3 separate regions of the Homo sapiens genome follow, and regions 1 and 2 are each linked to region 3. The links are contacts of gene promoters, found by promoter capture Hi-C in blood cells and fetal thymus (Javierre and others, 2016). All regions are on one chromosome and are shown on one strand. Each heading gives the region's core, a stretch centred on a gene start or on the middle of the fragment in contact. The rest is flanking DNA. Distances are from core to core; before and after follow the strand shown. Region 1 overlaps TBL1XR1 (TBL1X/Y related 1). Region 2 overlaps TBL1XR1 (TBL1X/Y related 1). Region 3 holds the start of PIK3CA (phosphatidylinositol-4,5-bisphosphate 3-kinase catalytic subunit alpha).

What was found. The method cuts DNA at HindIII sites, captures the fragments that hold promoters and counts their contacts. A CHiCAGO score of 5 or more calls a contact.
Region 1: a contact is called between a fragment that was not itself captured here and the fragment with the promoter of PIK3CA in region 3, in 4 of 17 cell types (naive CD4 T cells, fetal thymus, naive B cells and 1 more). The highest score is 7.1, in naive CD4 T cells.
Region 2: a contact is called between a fragment that was not itself captured here and the fragment with the promoter of PIK3CA in region 3, in 1 of 17 cell types (fetal thymus). The highest score is 9.0, in fetal thymus.

Annotation. Positions count from the first base shown.
Region 1 is chr3:177,105,341-177,108,040 of GRCh38, forward strand. All of the region lies in intron 1 of TBL1XR1 (TBL1X/Y related 1), which reads right to left. Among named protein-coding and RNA genes, the nearest start is that of TBL1XR1-AS1, 69 kb to the left of the region's middle. The HindIII fragment of the contact is 2,710 bases long and covers 84-2,700 here.
Region 2 is chr3:177,053,462-177,056,161 of GRCh38, forward strand. TBL1XR1 (TBL1X/Y related 1) reads right to left here. Exons shown (of 16, transcript NM_024665.7): 4 at 312-457. Among named protein-coding and RNA genes, the nearest start is that of TBL1XR1-AS1, 17 kb to the left of the region's middle. The HindIII fragment of the contact is 6,510 bases long and covers 1-2,700 here.
Region 3 is chr3:179,146,969-179,149,668 of GRCh38, forward strand. It overlaps PIK3CA (phosphatidylinositol-4,5-bisphosphate 3-kinase catalytic subunit alpha), which reads left to right and starts at 1,389. Exons shown (of 21, transcript NM_006218.4): 1 at 1,389-1,635. PIK3CA-DT (PIK3CA divergent transcript) reads right to left here and starts at 1,005. Exons shown (of 3, transcript NR_125401.1): 1 at 948-1,005. RefSeq lists enhancers at 104-213, 824-943, 1,753-2,252 and silencers at 1,434-1,903, 1,964-2,013. The HindIII fragment of the contact is 3,906 bases long and covers 1-2,637 here.

The DNA.
Region 1 (2,700 bases), core at 189-2,688, 2.0 Mb before region 3:
AACAAGTGTGGGGGGCCGAAGGAGGGGTGGACCAGTAGAAACAGCAACGAAGATCTAAGAAATAATATGAAGGGGGGATATCAAGCTTTGTTGCCTAAGACCACACAGGTGGGTACACTGGCACTTAAGTTAGAAAAGAAAACTGACATTCCTACATCTTAATAGATTTCTCACTCTTCCTAAGGTTTGAATATCTGATTCAAGGTATTAAGAATCTGAATAGCTAATTAGGCTACAACACACAAATCATTCAGTTGAACACATTTCCAATAGAAATGAGAATGGCTCTGCCAAGAAGACTGTCTTTGATTAGCTCTGTCCTACAGAAATGCCCCAGATTAGAACCTAACTATGACGTGGTGAGCCCCTCACTCAGATGTAATTGGTCTAGGGTAGGATCTACATCACTTGCATTTAAAATCCTCCCCACCCACCCCGTGTCAGTGTGTGGGTGTGTGTGTGCATGTGTGTGATTCCAATGGGGACTGAGAACCACTGGGTGGGGGTGGGAAGGGAAGGGACAGGATGGAGAATTTTACTAGTCAGGTCTAATTATTAACCTAAGGCAGGAGAGTCGCTTCTTTCAAATACTAAATTGCAAAGTGAGAGGTGTTCAGAACTAGAGGGAGAAATATGTTAATACTACATCGGACTAAATTAAGTGGTTTATTAATCTAATTTTAAGATTAATGATGACAAACAAAAGATAAACTCAATCTGTCTCCCAAAAATGAACAGAAAAGTAAGGACAATGATAATGAAGACACCATAAACAGAAAGGGGCCTAAAAAGACTTCAAAACATAATAACAAAAAAAAGAAGAAAATGCATAAAAAACACATAAAGCCCAAATGAGCCTCAGCTATGTGTGACAAAATTTTAAGTAGTAGGCAGAAGTTATAGAAAGGTATTTTTTTCCTATTCAATATAAAGGGAAACCATCGCGCAAATCAATGACAATGTTCAAACAAAATCTGGATATGTGATTCATCAAGGAAGTTCTAGTGGGCACTTAGGCAAATGAGCTGAAGTTTGTTCTACGTGCGCCCCATCCCTTTCTAACTTAGCACTCAAGTGTATTATCAGCGCCAGCACTAGCTTCTGCAGTACCTTTGTGCAAATTAGACTCTAGCAAAATAAATTACAAAAAGGAAGCCACGTGGTATCGGAGGTTAAGAGCCTGGAATTGTGGAGCCACACAGGTGGGTTTGGACTCCCTGGCTCTGACTCTTAGTAACTAGATAACCTCTCTCAGTGCCTTCGCTTTTTCATCTGTAAAATAAGTTAGGAGAGTGGAATAAAAAGTGCTAATCAGTGCCTAGCATAGTAATAAGACATAATGCATATTAAATAACAGAAATAAATTGTTATAAAGGAAGCTCCTTCCTCTGTGAAGACAGTCCGCTAACAGGGAAACAGCTTGGCCTGGATTTCAGTGCCCACTTTTCCCTTGGCTGTGTACCTCTGTGCAGGACACAAACTGCCCATTCAGATTCTGCCGTCCTGTGTGCTACTAAGGCTATTGAATCCAGGTACATTATGTCTTTTAGTGAATTAACACAACAGCATTACTACTAAAAAAAAAAATTATCATTTATAAAACTTTTTAATTACAACAGATTTGGAATATGCCCACAGTAGTCATCCTGACTAGCATAACCTCACAGTGATAATGAACACCTTCTAAATGAAGCAGTTCTTCAAACACTCTTCACAACTAAACAGCTTCAATTTTTACTTTGTAATAGAATGCAATAGGCCTCTTTAAAAAAAAAATTAAGAATATGTCAGCGGATAATTACTAAACTGAAAACTGTCATTCTGAAGTGCTTTGGACACACAAAAAATATACACACTTACATTAAACTAGATATTAGGTTCAGAATTCTGAAATGTTATGTTTCTATTTATCCACTACTGATGAACTCAAAGAGTCGCTCTTATGTGTCCTTACAGAAAACATTTCCTTACAGATTCACGTGAAAAAAAGTTTTCAAATTGGTTTCTTTAATTTCATATTTTGAAAGTTGGCATAATCTAGACAGTATCAGCAAATGCTTTTCCTTCAGTAAATTAAAACAAATATTTCATTTAACTACCACATTCCAATCAAAATAGCTGCCAGAAATACATTCATTTATGAAATCAAGGTTGTATGGGGGTTTTTTTAGTGGAATATTCTTAATTCTGGAGAATGCCAAGTTCTCATCCGGTGTTGGTTTGCCAAAATGCTTTCAATTTAACTTGTTCACCAAACTTAAAATGATACATTCGAACCAGCAAACACAAGCTGTGTTATCTGCCTGACCCATTCAAGGAGCCACTTCTGGTTCACACACACATAGATACACCATCCGGGGATCATGAAACGAAACTACCTTTCTTAAGATCTCATATATTATATATATTTCAATACAGAAAACTCCTCTCTGTGCCCAGCACCCAAGTTACGATAATAAAACACCAACTGAGATTATCTGAATACAACTACTCCATCTTACTTCTCAGTCATTGGCACGCAATGGTCTAAGGCAAACTATGGCCAGTTAGCAGATATTTTTTTATTTTGCAGGCCATTTGGTCTCTGTCACTACTACTCAACTCTGCTATTATACAGCAAAGTAGCCACAGACAATACATTAAAAAATGAATGGGCATTACTCTTTCTAATAAAACTTTATTCAAAAAAAAAAAAGATAA
Region 2 (2,700 bases), core at 181-2,680, 2.1 Mb before region 3:
ATTTACAATTTTCAGGCCAATAATTATGATCTTAGCATTCCACAGCACAATGCTGTTGTGTTAATAAAAATTCTTTATTAGTGTTTACTTACACAAACAGATTAAGGCAAACAAACTACAGATAATGGTCCTTACAACTAGGCGCCAACACCTTGCCGGTGCAACCTGACTACCACATTAGGGATGAACTGCCTGCACTTTTGTTAACCCTGTGAAGCTAAAGTCAGAATACTGAATAAGCAAGCAAGACAGCTGACTTAACGGCATATTTAAGATGAAAAAAATCAGTATTTGAAATAAGTCTTCCTTACCTCATTAATACTAACTTCTGCTTCTACATACTGTAGACCTTTCTGGATGATAGAAATCAATGCAGCGGGTGGGACGAGGGCACCATTTATATTGGACTGACTGATATGGCTTTCTATACCAAAGGTAAATGCTGAATGAGAAAATCCTAAAAACAAAAGAAAAGGCATGAGAATTTATTTTCCTAGTGGCAACATGCTAAATGACACAGAAAGAAAGATCACCATCATCTTTTCAAATCCCATCCTACCCATTTAAAATCCCAGACGAAGGTCGTGTGTGTGTGTGTGTGTGTGTGTGTGTGCGCGCGCGTGTGTGTGCATGTAAACATGTCAGCCTTTACATACTTTCTTTTTCTCTTAATGTACTCTTTAAAATTTCTAGTAAATACTTGATTATATAGCTTCAAATTTTCTAAAATGTCATGGTACACAACTTTTCTTAACAAAAAGCATCAAATGTAAAAGGTAAAACAAGTCTTTGGAAATCATATAATTAAATTGCTTCATTTAAATCAGGCCAAGACAGATTAAGGGACATTTAATATTTCTGTATTATATTTTAATATTTTTTACATCTAGAATTAAGGAACTTTATTTCAAATTTTCTTTCATCCCAGCCCAGTTCAAGTATTCAGCATCTCTCAAAAGTGGTACACATAATATGCTTTAAATAGGAATTCATTCATTCTGAATGATCTTCATTTACTTCATGTAATTGTTATCTACTACGTAGTTATAATTCAATAATGTCTGTAAAGCAATCTAGCACTCAGGTAAAATCTGAAGTATTTAAATTTCTACATATAAATTGTCAAACATCTGATAAATTCAGTATTTTGGAGCTCTTTGGAACTACTTAGGAAAACTAAAATAATAAAAATAAATTCAAATATTAAAAAATCATAACGGTTAAATCTCATTTTATGTATGAATTAAGTGCTTTAAAAATACCAATTCTTTGCCACTTAGTAATAACTCATCTATATGAAATATTTAAGAAATGAACAGCTAGCAAATGATTACCTGGTTTATAGGTCTCCATCAGCAATTACTTACTCTTAACTTGAAATACTTAAAACCAAAGCACTTACTTAATAAAAATCTCTTTATGTTGGCCTTGCTTTTTATTAATATCTAGTCAAAATTCAAAGGTAAAATTCTAAGAAGCTGATAAACCAAGGGTGGTTATTTTCTTTACTGAAATATTAATCACCATTTATCATTAAGTAGTAATTTCTATGAAGTATTTTAAACAATTCAATTAAATTGTACAAGTAATATAGAATATTAATAAACATTTATACTAAACAAAGGAAATAAATACAGGCTTATTTTGGGTCTTGGTTAAACTGATTTAATCTATATAGTATGTCTGTTGGCTAGCCTGTCTAGCCTAGTTTTTTAGTGTTTAGTAATGTCTTTTTTGGATTTTGTGCTTCCACTCTTATACTCCTTGTGGTACTTATAAACAGTCTAGTAGAAAATACTGTGGGCTCACAATTTCCTAGCATGTGGCTAGGAAAATTTGGTTATTTGATAGTCAGAGTACACCTAAGTTGATTTTCCTTGTAACCCCTTCCTTCTCTCTTTGGAACACCTAACTCATTATGCTCACAACATCTAACCCACAGTGGAAAAGGCAAGTGGAAAAATGTTACCTCTAAAACCTTGATTTTAGCCCCTGATTTTGCCCATAAGCAAGATCATAATTAAATGCATTTATAGTTTTCATAGTTTTCACCTTAATCTGGGCTCACAGAGATACCAATCGGGGGGCGGGGCGGGGGTGGGGGGGTGGGGGCGGAGAAGCACCGTTTTGAATTGTCCCTATCAGGAAGCCCACAACTATCTGAATATGAGTAGATTCCAGATCACCAAGGCAGAAAACAGAATAAGGATGAGGGAGGATGGGGAGAAACAATGAGAGACATAGCAGTAAAATCCTTAAGCAGTGAGGTTGGAGATTCCTGTTTTCAATTATATAACCCCTCCCTGAATAAATTCACAGTAAATCATCCATAGTAAAAACAGCCAAACGCCAAGCAGCTTAAGAGATTTAAGAAAACTTCAAGACAGAAGACATCATTTACAGAGGGCCTATACCATATGCTAGATACTGTGTACACACATATAATTTTATTATTTTATAATCTAATGGAAAATCACAACTAATAAATGAGAAAGTACAGATTCAAATTCATTCAGAGACTCTACTACTCCTCTTGAACAGTTAAAATATGGTCAAGGATAAAGCTAAGGGAGAGAGTGAGCTCCTGTTTCCTGATAGAAAGTAAAAGACTACATCACTGTTTTGTTTTCATCTCAGGGTCCTGGAAAGTGGTTGCACAGTGCATGAAACACTGAGCCATCTTATTGCCATATTTACTGC
Region 3 (2,700 bases), core at 139-2,638:
AGAAACACAAACCCCTGGAATGTGAGATGAAAATCCGAGCTAAAGGGAGAAAAAGGACGAAAGAAAGAAAACACAGAAAAGAAAGAAATACAGTCAAGTGAAACTACGACCACAAAGAGGAACAGATCCATCTCATTTACCATTGGGGTATGGACGGACGTGCGGTGTTCGAGAAGACTGTTATTGGTCAGAGTTTTGCTCTAGAGGACAAGTAGGACTGTAACATCTCTAGGATGGGTCACTTCCCAAGCCCTCTATTACTTAAAAATTCAAGGAGGAACCGATGCTGGAGTACTTGTATCTCAGACTTCTAATCACTGCTCCTACGCTTTTCCAATATTACAACAAAAGACCAGTAGGGGGAGAAAAACGCACAGTACCGAACCCTTATCAGTAGTAATCTCAAAAGTCAACAGATTGATTTACTCTCAAGCAAACAGACTTCTAAGGTACGCAGCACCAAGACACTACCTTGAATCAAATCTATAGCCTATATGACATTTCTGAAGTCTCTGTTGGCATTACGCGAAAAATCCCCCACGTCTTCTGAATAGTTAGAATTGAATCCTACAAGCTGCTTCGAATCAGAATTCGATTTAAAAAAAAAAATGAGGGCATAGCAAAAGGTCTCCACGAAGTGAGTCAAAGGACTGCAGAGGGCTGTGACAGTGCATTCCGCCTTCGGGATGGTATACAACTTAAACCATGTCGGCAGAAGAACGCACAGCAACGCTTTGTAAAAAGCATTCTTTCTATTATAGAATCCATAACCACGCTGGTTAGCCACTGACAGCGGCGGTTAGCCACCGCACCTCCTCTCACCCCCGAACTAATCTCGTTTCCTCTATGGGTGTAAAAGTGAAATAACCCACTTGCTCCCAATATTCCTTTCTATATCTCTACCCCAGCTCGCCTGCTGCTCGTAGAAACAAATATACTACACGTACGCTGTCCTAGGATGACACAACACCCTCACTACTGCAGAAGACGGATCATTAAACAAACGTCAGAAGAGCAGCCCCAACTGTACATAAACTTCGGGCGGAAAAGCAAGACGCAGGCGCAGTAGCACATATTGTTACCCTATTTGCCCACTCCCTGCTCCTCCTCGCCTCAATTTCGCTTCCGCTTCTTTGCGCATCTGCTTCCGGGGGATTGTAGGCTCTGCCCCTCCTCAGCTCTTACCCTCTTCTGCCGGAGGAGGGGGGGGGCCGAGGGGGTGGGGAAGAGTTCGTTGTTTGTTTACACGATGTGAGCGGAAAAAGAGACCAATAAAGTTTATTCTGGAAACAAAAGGAAAAAAAAACAGGGGCGACGGAGAAAGGAGTCGGGGGCGGGGGCGTGTGGCGGGGGCTAGCGAGGAGAGGGAGCGAGAAGTAGAAAGCGGCAGTTCCGGTGCCGCCGCTGCGGCCGCTGAGGTGTCGGGCTGCTGCTGCCGCGGCCGCTGGGACTGGGGCTGGGGCCGCCGGCGAGGCAGGGCTCGGGCCCGGCCGGGCAGCTCCGGAGCGGCGGGGGAGAGGGGCCGGGAGGCGGGGGCCGTGCCGCCCGCTCTCCTCTCCCTCGGCGCCGCCGCCGCCGCCCGCGGGGCTGGGACCCGATGCGGTTAGAGCCGCGGAGCCTGGAAGAGCCCCGAGCGTGAGTAGAGCGCGGACTGGCCGGTAGCGGGTGCGGTGGGAATGGGGACCGGGTGGGTGCCGGAGACTCCCGGGCGCGCCCGCCGTGTTGGGCGGAGGCTACGGGCTGGTCGTCTCCCAGCGTCGGCCCGCGGCGGAGTTCGCCTGCGATCGCCGCACCCTCTCCCTCGCCTGCCTCTGGCCTCTCCTAGCTGCAGAGGCGAGGGCTCGCCGCTCCCTCTCCTTTCTCTCTGGCTGCCGCCTCGCTCTTCCTTTGCTTCTACTCCCAGTTTTGGGGACGGGGCGGCTGGAGGTTGAGGAAGTGCGCCCAGGGCCGCCGCCCCGGCCGCGGTGGCTCTGTCTCCCGCGCCCTGCACGCCCACCCAGCCCGCGGGTGGAGGGGCTGCCGCGAGGACTGCGGCTCAAGGGACGCGGGCGCGAAACCGCGAGCTTTTCTTGAGGGGCTGTCACGCCCGAGGACTCCGGCCCCGCCAGCCTGGCGGCCCTGCGTTTGCCTCTTACTGGGTTTAAATCGCCCGGCAGGGGTATGGAAGGAACACCGCTCCCCTCACCCCCGCCAGCTCCCCTCCCACCCTTCCTTTCGAGGTTGTTTTTTCCTTTTAGCTGAGACAAACGCTTAGATCTTTCATTCATAGACCTGAGACACTGACTCATGTGACTTGTCTCTTTACTAAGTGTATTATGTGATGCCTGTTCCATGGCTCTTAAGTGGCTCGGAAAGGTAGGGTAGGGCCCGGGATTGGGCTATGTAAACACCAGACGTTCAGCCGGCGTGTTTTTGACCTCGGCTCGAGGGGTTTATTTTAGGATGCTAAAGGAATAGTGATGGTGGCCAACCGTGTTACCAGACTTGGGAATCGAAAGCTATTTTTTTATGTCAATAATTGAGACTGTTTACATGGTTAAATAAAGGGTAGGGTAAAGGGAGCGCAACAAGAGGGTCTTTCTAGAAAACAGTCTGCATATTCTTTAATGAATTAGAGTTGTGATTTCATCTTGGTGAAGCTTCCTCATTCCAGCACTGCGCCTTTGTGCACATGCAGGACCTGGGTTTTCGGAACGATGT